Regions from separate parts of the Homo sapiens genome. Here region 1 is linked to region 2. Evidence: promoter capture Hi-C in 16 types of primary human blood cells and fetal thymus (Javierre and others, 2016). All regions are on one chromosome and are shown on one strand. The core of a region is centred on a gene start or on the middle of the fragment in contact, and the rest is flanking DNA. Distances in the headings are between cores, read along the strand shown.

Evidence for each region. The method cuts DNA at HindIII sites, captures the fragments that hold promoters and counts their contacts. A CHiCAGO score of 5 or more calls a contact.
Region 1: a fragment that was not itself captured here is called in contact with the fragment with the promoter of VSX2 in region 2 in 2 of 17 cell types (M1 macrophages and M0 macrophages); the score reaches 5.5 in M1 macrophages.

What each region holds. Positions count from the first base shown.
Region 1 is chr14:74,125,447-74,130,482 of GRCh38, forward strand. The region is part of intron 5 of LIN52 (lin-52 DREAM MuvB core complex component); the gene reads left to right. All of the region lies in intron 1 of LOC105370563 (a long non-coding RNA gene), which reads right to left. Among named protein-coding and RNA genes, the nearest start is that of LIN52, 43 kb to the left of the region's middle. The HindIII fragment of the contact is 475 bases long and covers 2,716-3,190 here.
Region 2 is chr14:74,236,171-74,241,198 of GRCh38, forward strand. VSX2 (visual system homeobox 2) reads left to right here and starts at 3,279. Exons shown (of 5, transcript NM_182894.3): 1 at 3,279-3,761; 2 at 5,012-5,028. The coding sequence starts at 3,392. RefSeq lists an enhancer at 4,630-5,028. The HindIII fragment of the contact is 12,282 bases long and covers 1-5,028 here.

The sequences.
Region 1 (5,036 bases), core at 1,703-4,202, 110 kb before region 2:
ACTTTTTGATGGGGTTGTTTGTTTTTTTCTTGTAAATTTGTTTGAGTTCATTGTAGATTCTGGATATTCGCCCTTTGTCAGACGAGTAGATTGCAAAAATTTTCTCCCATTGTGTAGGTTGCCTTTAAAGACACATTCACATGTATGTTTATTGCGGCACTATTCACAATAGCAAAGACTTGGAACCAACCCAAATGTCCAACAATGATAGACTGGATTAAGAAAATGTGGCACATATTCACCCTGGAATACTATGCAGCCATGAAAAATGATGAGTTCATGTCCTTTGTAGGGACATGGATGAAGCTGGAAACCATCTTTCTCAGCAAACTATCACAAGGATAAAAAACCAAACACCGCATGTTCTCACTCATAGGTGGGAATTGAACAATGAGAACACATGGACACAGGAAGGGGAACATCACACACCGGGGCCTGTTGTGGGGTGGGGGGAGGGGGGAGGGATAGTATTAGGAGATATACCTAATGTTAAATGATGAGTTAATGGGTGCAGCACACCAACATGGCACATGTATACATATGTAACTAACCTGCACGTTGTGCACATGTACCCTAAAACTTAAAGTATTAAAAAAAAAAAAAAGAAATGAGCAAAGGACTTGACTAGACATTGCTCCAAAGAAGAAATACAAATGGCTAACAAGCACATGCAAAGATACTCAACATCATTAGTCGTTAGGGAAATCCAAATCAAAACCAGGGTGATACCACTTTATACCCTCTAGGATGGCTATAATTAAAGAAACCCCAAAACAAAAACAGAAAGTAACAGGTATTGGCAAGGATATGGTGAAATTAGAACCTTCATACATTGCTGGTGGCTATGTAAAATGGTATACTCCCTGTGGGAAACTGGTATTTCTTCAAAAGGTTAAAAGGTAGAATTGCCATATGCCCAGCAATTCCATTGCTAGGTTTATACCCAAAAGAATTGAAAACAGGTACTCAAACAAATGCTTCTACACAAATGTTCACATCAGTACTATTCACAAGAGCCAAAAGGTAGAAACAACCCAAGTGTCCATCAACAGATGAATGAATAAACAAAATGTGGTATATCCATACAGTGGAATATTATTCAGCCATTCAAATGAATGAAGTACTGATGCTACAACATATAAATAAATCTTCAAAATATTATACTATATGAAGGCAGTTAGACACAAAAGGACACATAATGTGTGATTTCATTTACATGAAACATCTAGGGTAGGTAGATCCAGAAGACATGAAAAGGCAGATTGGTGGTTCCCAGGGCCTAGAGAAAGTGTGGAATGGGGAGTGACTACTTTATGGATTTGGGATTTTTGTGGGGAAGGTGAAAATGTTTTGGAACTTGATACAAGTGGTGATTGCACAACATTGTGAATGCACTAAATGCCACTGAATTGTATACTTCAAAAATGTGAATTTCACCTCAATCAAAAACTAGCTAGTATGGTGTTTGACACCTAGCAAGCTACCAATAAATTTAAAATATTATTACATAGTGTCACCTTTATCAGAAATTTAGCTTCGTGACCTTGGTCATCAATTTCCTGAGCTGAAAAAATGAAGTTGTTGGAATAGAAGACCTCTAAGGTCCTTACAGCATTAAAATTCTACTATATTAAGGCCTAGTGTTTCTAATTCATACAGTTAATATTTATTATGTAACTTCAGAGTACTATGCTAGGCAGCAAGGACTTAGCAGTAAATAAGACAGATATAGTTCCTGCTGTCATAAAGCTAACATTCTAGTAGATAAGGCCTTACACAAATAATTATTTGCTGAGATATTGTTCTAAGTACAATGTGGGACAAGGCCTAAGAGGGCAGGGATGGGTCTCCTGAGAAAAAGATATTTCGGTATGAAGAATGAGTAGGAGTTAACTGGGTGGAGAGAACGGAGATGAGCTTTCAGAAGGGAACAGCAAAGTCTGGTAGTGGGAAGGTGCACAGTGTCTTTGAAGAACTGAAAGAAGACTAATATGAATTCAGACAGTGACTGGTGAGATAGACAGGTTGGCTCATGTGAGATTTCTTAGGTTTACTAAGGATTTTGGGTATTATACTGAGAGCACTGGGAAGCCACTGAAAGGCTTTAAGCAAACAATATTCAGTTTCTGATCATGTAAAAAATGGTTTGCAGGAAGGCAAGTGAGGAACTAGGGAAATAAAGTAGGAAGTCATTGCAATAGCTAAGACTGCTGCCTGGAACTAGGGTACTGGTAGTGGACATGGAGAGAAGTAGTTAATTTGAGAATGACTTAGGACACAGAATAAGTCTTTTTTTAAACTTAATTTTTTTTTTGAGATGGGGTCTTGCTATGTTGCCCAGGCTGATCTTGAATTCCTGGCCTCAAGCACTCTTCCCATCTTGGCCTCCCAAAGTGCTGGGATTACAGGCATGAACCACCACGCCTGTCTGGGACAGAGAATAAGTCTTGATGGACTGGCTGTGGGAAAGGGGAGAAGGGTGTCAGGGATGACTCCTAGATTTCTCTTGAGCATGTAAGTCAGTGGCATGCAAAGAACATTGGAGGGACCTCTGCTTTTGGTCAACTTGGTATGTCAGGGACTAGATTCACCTTCTTACCTGAAACAGTTTTTTTAAATGGAAAATATATGAAATAATGATTTTCAGGATGCTGGACATCAGGCAACAAAGGACAGTAATCACTAAAGAGAAAGGTGAACTTTGTGACTGCCCCAAGCTTACTGCTTTGAAAGAATTTCCAGGCTGTGGTGCAGGGAGAGGGACCCAGGCAGAGGCTGGTGGGCTTCCTGAGTTGAAGAAATGGAGCTGAGAGTGTGGAGAGGCCAAGACAGCTAGAGTTCACAGGACAGCAGAGTACCGGAGAGGAGAGGGCGGCACAGAGAAAGAAGAGAGATCCACAGAGGGTCCTCCTGGAGTATTTAGCTGAGGACTGATCAGCACATTCATGTGAGGGAGCTTCTTGAGGATGAAGAAAGAACCATCCAAAAGGATTGGAAGGAACAGTGCCTGGCACCACTGGGCCAGTAATAGTGCCTACTCCCACTGGACTGGAGAAACCTCATCATTCACAGGACACCAGGGAGGACTCAAAAGGATCTTGCCTCTGTAGTGTGGAATACATCTGTCAAAACATACCAAACTATACACTTCAAATATGTGCATTATCATATGTGAATTATATCTCAGTAAAGCTTTTTACTAAAGAACGCTGTGGCTGGGTGCAGTGGCTCATGCCTGTAATCCCAGCACTTTGGGAGGCTGAGACAGGCAGATCACTTGAGATCAGGATTTCAAGTTCAGCCTGGCCAACATGGTAAAACCTCGTCTCTACTAAAAAGTACAGAACATTAGCCTGCTGTGGTGGTGCACGCCTGTAATCCCAGCTACTCAGGAGGCTGAGGCATGAGAATCTTGAGCCTGCGAGACTGAGGTTGCAATGAGCCAAGATCGCACCACTGCACTCCAGCCTGGGCAACAGAGCAAGACTCTGTCTAAAAAAACAAAACAAAACAAAACAAAAACAACAACCCTGGAGGAGGAACAGATTGTAAGGAAAGATTATGCATTTAGTTTTTGACATGGGGTTTGGCTTTGGTTGTTAACTGGAGACATTGTTTAGGCAGTTAAATGTATGAATGAGTGAGTTAGTTTTAGTGGGATGGTGGAGGCAGTTTGAAATGGAGTGAGGAATGAGTGGAAGGTAGGAAATGGAAACAGGATAGGGAGATAATTCTTTCAGAGTTTGACTCTTAAGAGGGACAAAGGGTGAAAGCTAGTGGGAGAAGTGGAGTCAGAGTTTAGTTGCTTTAGGATGATAGACTTAATATATATTTAAATCTCAATGCCACGATAGAAGATGCAGGTTAATCAAATATAAGTAAGGTTTCTGAGAGGGCGCAGGTGAATCAAATATAAGTAAGGTTTCTGAGAGGGTTTGAAGGCATAGCACTTAGAATATGGATGTGTTGGCTTTAGATTGGAAGAGAGCTACTTTGTCTACTCTTGTATAACAAGGGAAATGAGAGAGGATAGATGAAGATCAGGTTTGTGAGTTGGTGGGAAGATGAAGAGGTGCTTATATGTTGGATCCCAGACTGCTTTTCTGTATTTCTAAATTACATGCAGCCGGGCACAGTGGCTCACACCTGTAATCCCAACACTCTGGGAGGCTGAGGCAGGAGGCTCACTTGAGCACAAGAGTTTGATATTAACCCAAACAACATAGTGAGAACCCATCTGTACAAAAAATAATTAGCCAGGTGTGGTGACACACACCTGTAGTCACAGCTACTTGGGAGGCTGAGACAAGAGGATTCCTTGAATCCAGGAATTCGAGGCTGCAGTGAGCTGTGACCATGTCACTTTACTCCAGCCTGGGGGACAGAGTGAGACCCTATGTATAGTCTGTTTTCATGCTGCTGATAAAGACATACCCCAGACTGGGAAGAAAAAGAGGTTTAATGGACTTACAGTTCCACATAGCTGGGGAGACCTCACAATCATGGCAGAAGGCAAGGAGGAAAACATCACGTCTTACATGGATGGCGGCAGGCAAAAAGAGAGCTTGGGCAGGGAAACTCCTCCTTTTAAAACCATCAGATCTCATGCAGACCCACTTGCTATCAGGAGAACAGTATGGGAGAAACTGCCCCCGTGATTCAGTTATCTCCCACCAGGTCTCTCCTACAACACGTGGGAATTATGGGAGCTACAGGATGAGATTTGGATGTGAACAAAGAGCCAAACCATATCACCCTGTCTCAAAAAAAATAAATAAATTACATGAACACATATTAGGGAATGAGGAATTTATTAGATAGGCATTTTTTGGTTTTTTTTTTTTTTTTTTGAGACAGTCTCGCTCTTTTGCCAAGCTGGAGTGCAGTGGCTCAGCTCACTGCAACTCTGCAACTTCTGCCTCCTGGGTTCAAGCGATTCTCCTGCCTCAGCCTCCCAAGTAGCTAGGATTACAGGCGTGTACCACCACTCCTGGCTAATTTTAATATTTTTAGTAGAGACAGGGTTTCATCATGTT
Region 2 (5,028 bases), core at 2,029-4,528:
GATTACAGGCGTGAGCCACCAGGCCCGGCCTTCATGACACTTCTTTTTTTTTTTTAATTTTTGAGACAGGGTCTCACTCTGTCGCCCAGGCTGGTGGTGCGATCTTGGCTCACTGCAACCTCTGCCTCCCAGGTTCAAGCGATTCTCCTGCCTCAGCCTCCTGAGTAGCTGGGATTATAGGTGTCCACCACCATGCCCAGCTAATTTTTGTATTTTTAGGAGAGACCAGGTTTCACCATGTTGACCAGGCTGGTCTTGAACTCCTGACCTCAAATGATCCACCCGCCTTGCCCTCCCAAAGTGCTGGAATTACAGGTGTGAGCCACCACACCTGGCCCTTTATGATAATTCTAAGGAGTGGGGTCCTACTATGATCCCCATTTTATGGATGAAGAAACTGAGGCACAGAGGGCACAAAGAGGTTAGATAATATTCCCAAAGTCACCAAGCAAGTGATAGAGTGGGCATCTGAACCCAGGCAGTCTGGCTCTAGAGACCAGGCCCTTGTCCTCTATGCTAACTCAGGGGGTCAAGGGATGCTCACAACCCCATTATCGGGCTATTTTCTAGGTAAAGCAATCGATGTTAAGAGAGAAGAGAAATGATGAGCTCAGAGAAGGCCCAGGTTTGGACTCAGTGTGACCAAACTAAATGCCTCTGAAAGGGTTCACTTCACTCCCCACACCCCTGGCCCAAGCTGTGGGGATCTGCATTTCCTTGTAGGGTCCCCCGTTATGGTCCACAAATGTCTTTTTTTTTTTTTTTTGAGATGGAGTCTCCCTCTGTCATTCAGGCTGGAGTGCAATGGCGCGATCTTGGCTCACTGCAACCTCCTCCTCCTGGGTTCAAGCAGTTCTCTCACTTGAGCCTCCGGAGTAGCACACGCCACCACACCTGGCTAATTTTCGTATTTTTAGTAGAGACAGGGTTTCACCATGTTCGCCAGGCTGGTCTCAAACTCCTGACCTCAAGTGATCCGCCTCCCTCAGCCTCCCAAAGTGCTGGGATTACAGGCGTGAGCCACCACGCCCGGCCACAAATGTCTTAAGTCTGGGTCCAGCCCAAGCTGGGCAGCTGGGGAGCAGTAACAGTGACACCTCAAAAGCTCAGAGACAGCCCCGTAGCCAGGAGTCTGTCAAGGAGTCCAGCTCCCAGGGTGGAGCTGGCCGCAGGTGGAAGCTGAGTCCTCCCTTCACCTTCAGCCTCTGGCAAGGGTTTTTCTCAGGGGGCCTGGGGTTGTCCCGGTCTCCAACCTCCTACAGCAGGATGGCGACTATCTCTCTGATATTGGGAACTGGCAGCTTCAGACATGGGGTTTGGTCAAGAGATTTTTCATCCTCATCTGGCAAGAGCCAACTTCATCACTCACACACTTGTTTTCCATCACTCACGTTTGCCCATCAGCTGGCATCTGGCTCATCGTGGATGTCTCATGATAAGTCAGGGACATGACAGATGCCATTAACATAACATCCTCATCCATCCTCCCAGGGTGGGCTGGCATGGAGAGTGGGCTGAGAGAGGGATGGAGTCAAAAGAAAACAGCTTCTGACATCAGACTCATGCGCTGACTCATCTGACCTCTGATGCTTACTAGCTAGGTAACCTCTTAGGCAACATAAGTTTGTGTATCCATTAAATGGGGACAGAAATTCTTTTCTGGCAGGTGAGTCTACTGCTTTGCACAACTCCAGAGGGCACCATTCACATTGTTGTCTACGTGAGTGGTGTTACTTGGGACCCACCTCCATAGAATATAAGGTGAAGAATGCCTTGAGATTGTGTCACCAGAGATGACACCATGTAAGGGGCCTGGGATGATGTAGGCACACAGTAGGCACGGCCTTATTATGGGATACAGAGGCACCACTCTCCCAGATATCTCCTGCACCATGAGATGCCCCTACCTAATTCCAGCTGTTATGTGGACCAAACCAATGGGAGTGGAGACCCTCCTCACAACAGCCCTGCTAGCAAGGTCTAGGTTCCACATCCTGAGGTGCCTCCTCTTACCTCTCAGGCTGGCCCCATGGCAGCCACGAGGGTACCAGACACCTTGGCAATAGGCCAGGTATGGCTAGGGGGTTTCCTTCCATTTGGGGGTTTGCACCTGACTGGCTAAGAAATCCTGGATGGAATCTTCCCAGCCTGGTTTTCCAATCTCTGCTTAAAGCAATGGACCTAGTCCTTATCTCCCCATAGGGTGCCTTCAATTCAAGGAACCTACCATGAACTGACCATATGCTAGGCGCAGTGAAGAAGGGAGCCTCAAGGTCGATAAGATAGTTCCCAGCCCCAAGAAGGTCACAGAAGAGTTAGCTGAGGTGGTGGAGTGCAGGGGAAAGCAGCTTACCTTTTAATTTCCTCTCACCCGCTTCCTCCTTCCTCTCCCTCCACATCAACAATCCCTTCCTCTTCATTCTGTTTGCTCAATGAACTCTGAAGTATAGCAGGGCCCTTGCCTTGTCTGATTTACTGCGGAACCCCTGGCTACCAGGTCGGAGCTAGTAGCTCAATACATATTAGTCGAATGAATTGGGTGGAAGAATCAAGTCCTCCCATGAAAGTTGGGCATGCTTCATGCTTACTCTAGGAAGAGGTTTGGATGTCCATGGTTGTTCTCCAAAAGTAATCATCACTGTTCCTCTTTCCCACCAGGGACCCCTCTTTCTGACCCATTTATCATTCATTCATTGGGCCAATATGTGTTGAGTAGCTCTTCCGAACTAGGCATTATACCTTGTGCTGGGGAAGCAAACTTTCCCTACCCCTACATCACCCTCTGCACACCTTGGCCTGATCTTTTCCCAGCTTACCACCACACACACTGCCCCAGCACTTACCTCTCCCTTGTTCAACCGTTTACACAGAGGTGCCATATTCAGGCCGCCCTGATGCTGCCAACCTGCATAGGAGTTGAGGGAAGGAGGTCTCCCAGTCTCTCACCTCTGCCCTTAGCCCATCCTTCCACCTGACCTCAGGGACCTGTCCCTGCCAGAATCTGCCCAGAGCCCCAAGCCACTCTGCCTCCCGGAACAGCCCTGAACCTGAACCTGGTTGTCTCACTTCGGCCCCTGGGGTCCCTGCCCATGGGCATCCTGCAGAGCCCACCCGGTGCTCCACCCCCAGCACCCTGGCCATTCGACATTGCCTGCGGCGGGAGCTGCCAGCTTTTTGGAATTCCTAATCGCTCCTGGCCCCGGTGATTGGCTGCTCAGCTCTGACCCCACTTGGGCTGCCGCCTGGTTGGATAAAAGGGGAATCTCCTTGGGCTCCAGAGCATTAGACACCGGAGGGGGCACCTGGGACCAACTTCGCGAAGCGGGAAGCCCGGCGGGGGGGTGGGGGGAGCTAAAGACCTGCGGCCTCAGCCCCTCCAAAGAACAGGGAGATGACGGGGAAAGCAGGGGAAGCGCTGAGCAAGCCCAAATCCGAGACAGTGGCCAAGAGTACCTCGGGGGGCGCCCCGGCCAGGTGCACTGGGTTCGGCATCCAGGAGATCCTGGGCTTGAACAAGGAGCCCCCGAGCTCCCACCCGCGGGCAGCGCTCGACGGCCTGGCCCCCGGGCACTTGCTGGCGGCGCGCTCAGTGCTCAGCCCCGCGGGGGTGGGCGGCATGGGGCTTCTGGGGCCCGGGGGGCTCCCTGGCTTCTACACGCAGCCCACCTTCCTGGAAGTGCTGTCCGACCCGCAGAGCGTCCACTTGCAGCCATTGGGCAGAGCATCGGGGCCGCTGGACACCAGCCAGACGGCCAGCTCGGGTAGGTGAGGAGAGGTTGCGCTGCTGCCTGACTGGGGGGCGACAGCCGGGAGCCCCGCGCCGTCGGCTCTCGCTTGCTGGACCAGGCCTCCAGGCGGAAAAGTTCCTGCCAGGCCGGGGGTCGCCGCCTGGGCCTTGGGCCGACGCGCCTGGTGATGGGGCCCGGGAGGATGCTTCGGCGTCCGCAGGGTTTCGGCCCCAAGCGTTTCGGGCGGCCGCGCAGTTCTCCAGTCCCCGCGTCGGGCAGGGCTCGGCCACGGCACTCTGTTGGAGCCCCACTGAAAACTGGGTTTGGGGTGTCGGAGCCCGTGGTGCAGAGTCGCCGGCCGTGTCGGAGGGCCCCAGCACCGCTGCTCCACTGCGGCCCCGGCCTGGTGTAGGATCCGCACTCCTCGAGCCCGATGCTGTTCCGGCTCCGGCCCCATCCCTGGTGTCCAAAGTTGTCTGATTCCCAAATCCCGCGCTGGTCAACTGGGGTTTATTTTTCACCCCCACGAGCTCAGACAACCCGGCCATCGCGGCAGCTAAAGCGGCCGCCATCCTCTCCCACGTAAGCGCCACTATATACTGGAGCCCGGGGACGCGCGGGCTCGGGGACCCTGGGTGACCTCTCCGCCTTCTCCCCGCGCTGCTTTCCGGGAGGTGTGTCGCGGCCCGCTCGAACCTCCGATTCCTGTTTGAGCTTGGCAATTCCCCCGATTTTTCGTTGCGTTTTACTTTGTTTTACGTGGAAAGGCAACGAAAACCAGCGCGTCGCAGGCTCTCGGGCCTCGAGTAGGGACGCATTGTGCCGCCTTGCGAAAAGGACGGTGCTCGGCAGCCCCCAGTCTTCCCGGAGCCCAGCTCCCCACGCCTCCGCTCCGCTCCTCGCTCCTCGAGGCCAACTTTCCGGCCCGGGGCATTGGGGCTGGCCGCGCAGGGCAGGGCGCAGCAGGGTCGCGAGCGCTGCCGGGGATCTCTGCGGCCCCCTAAGGCTGCCTCGCTCTCCGTCGTCCCGGTCCCAAGCGCGCCGGGGCCTTTGCCTCTCTTACAACGAAATCTGTTCAAAACCTCCGGATTCGGGCCCCGGCGCGGGAGAGGTCAGCCTGAGCTCAGGGATGGGACGGCCACCGGGGCGCCCGCAGGCTTCCTGGGGAGACAGAGCAGGTCCCCGCCGCTCGCGGAGGCAGCCCGGGGTGGGGCCCTCGCGGGTTTCGGGCACAGCGGAGCGCGTCCCCCACTCTGCCGCATGTCCCTACGCCCGCTTTTCAGATTCTGAAGATGTTTCC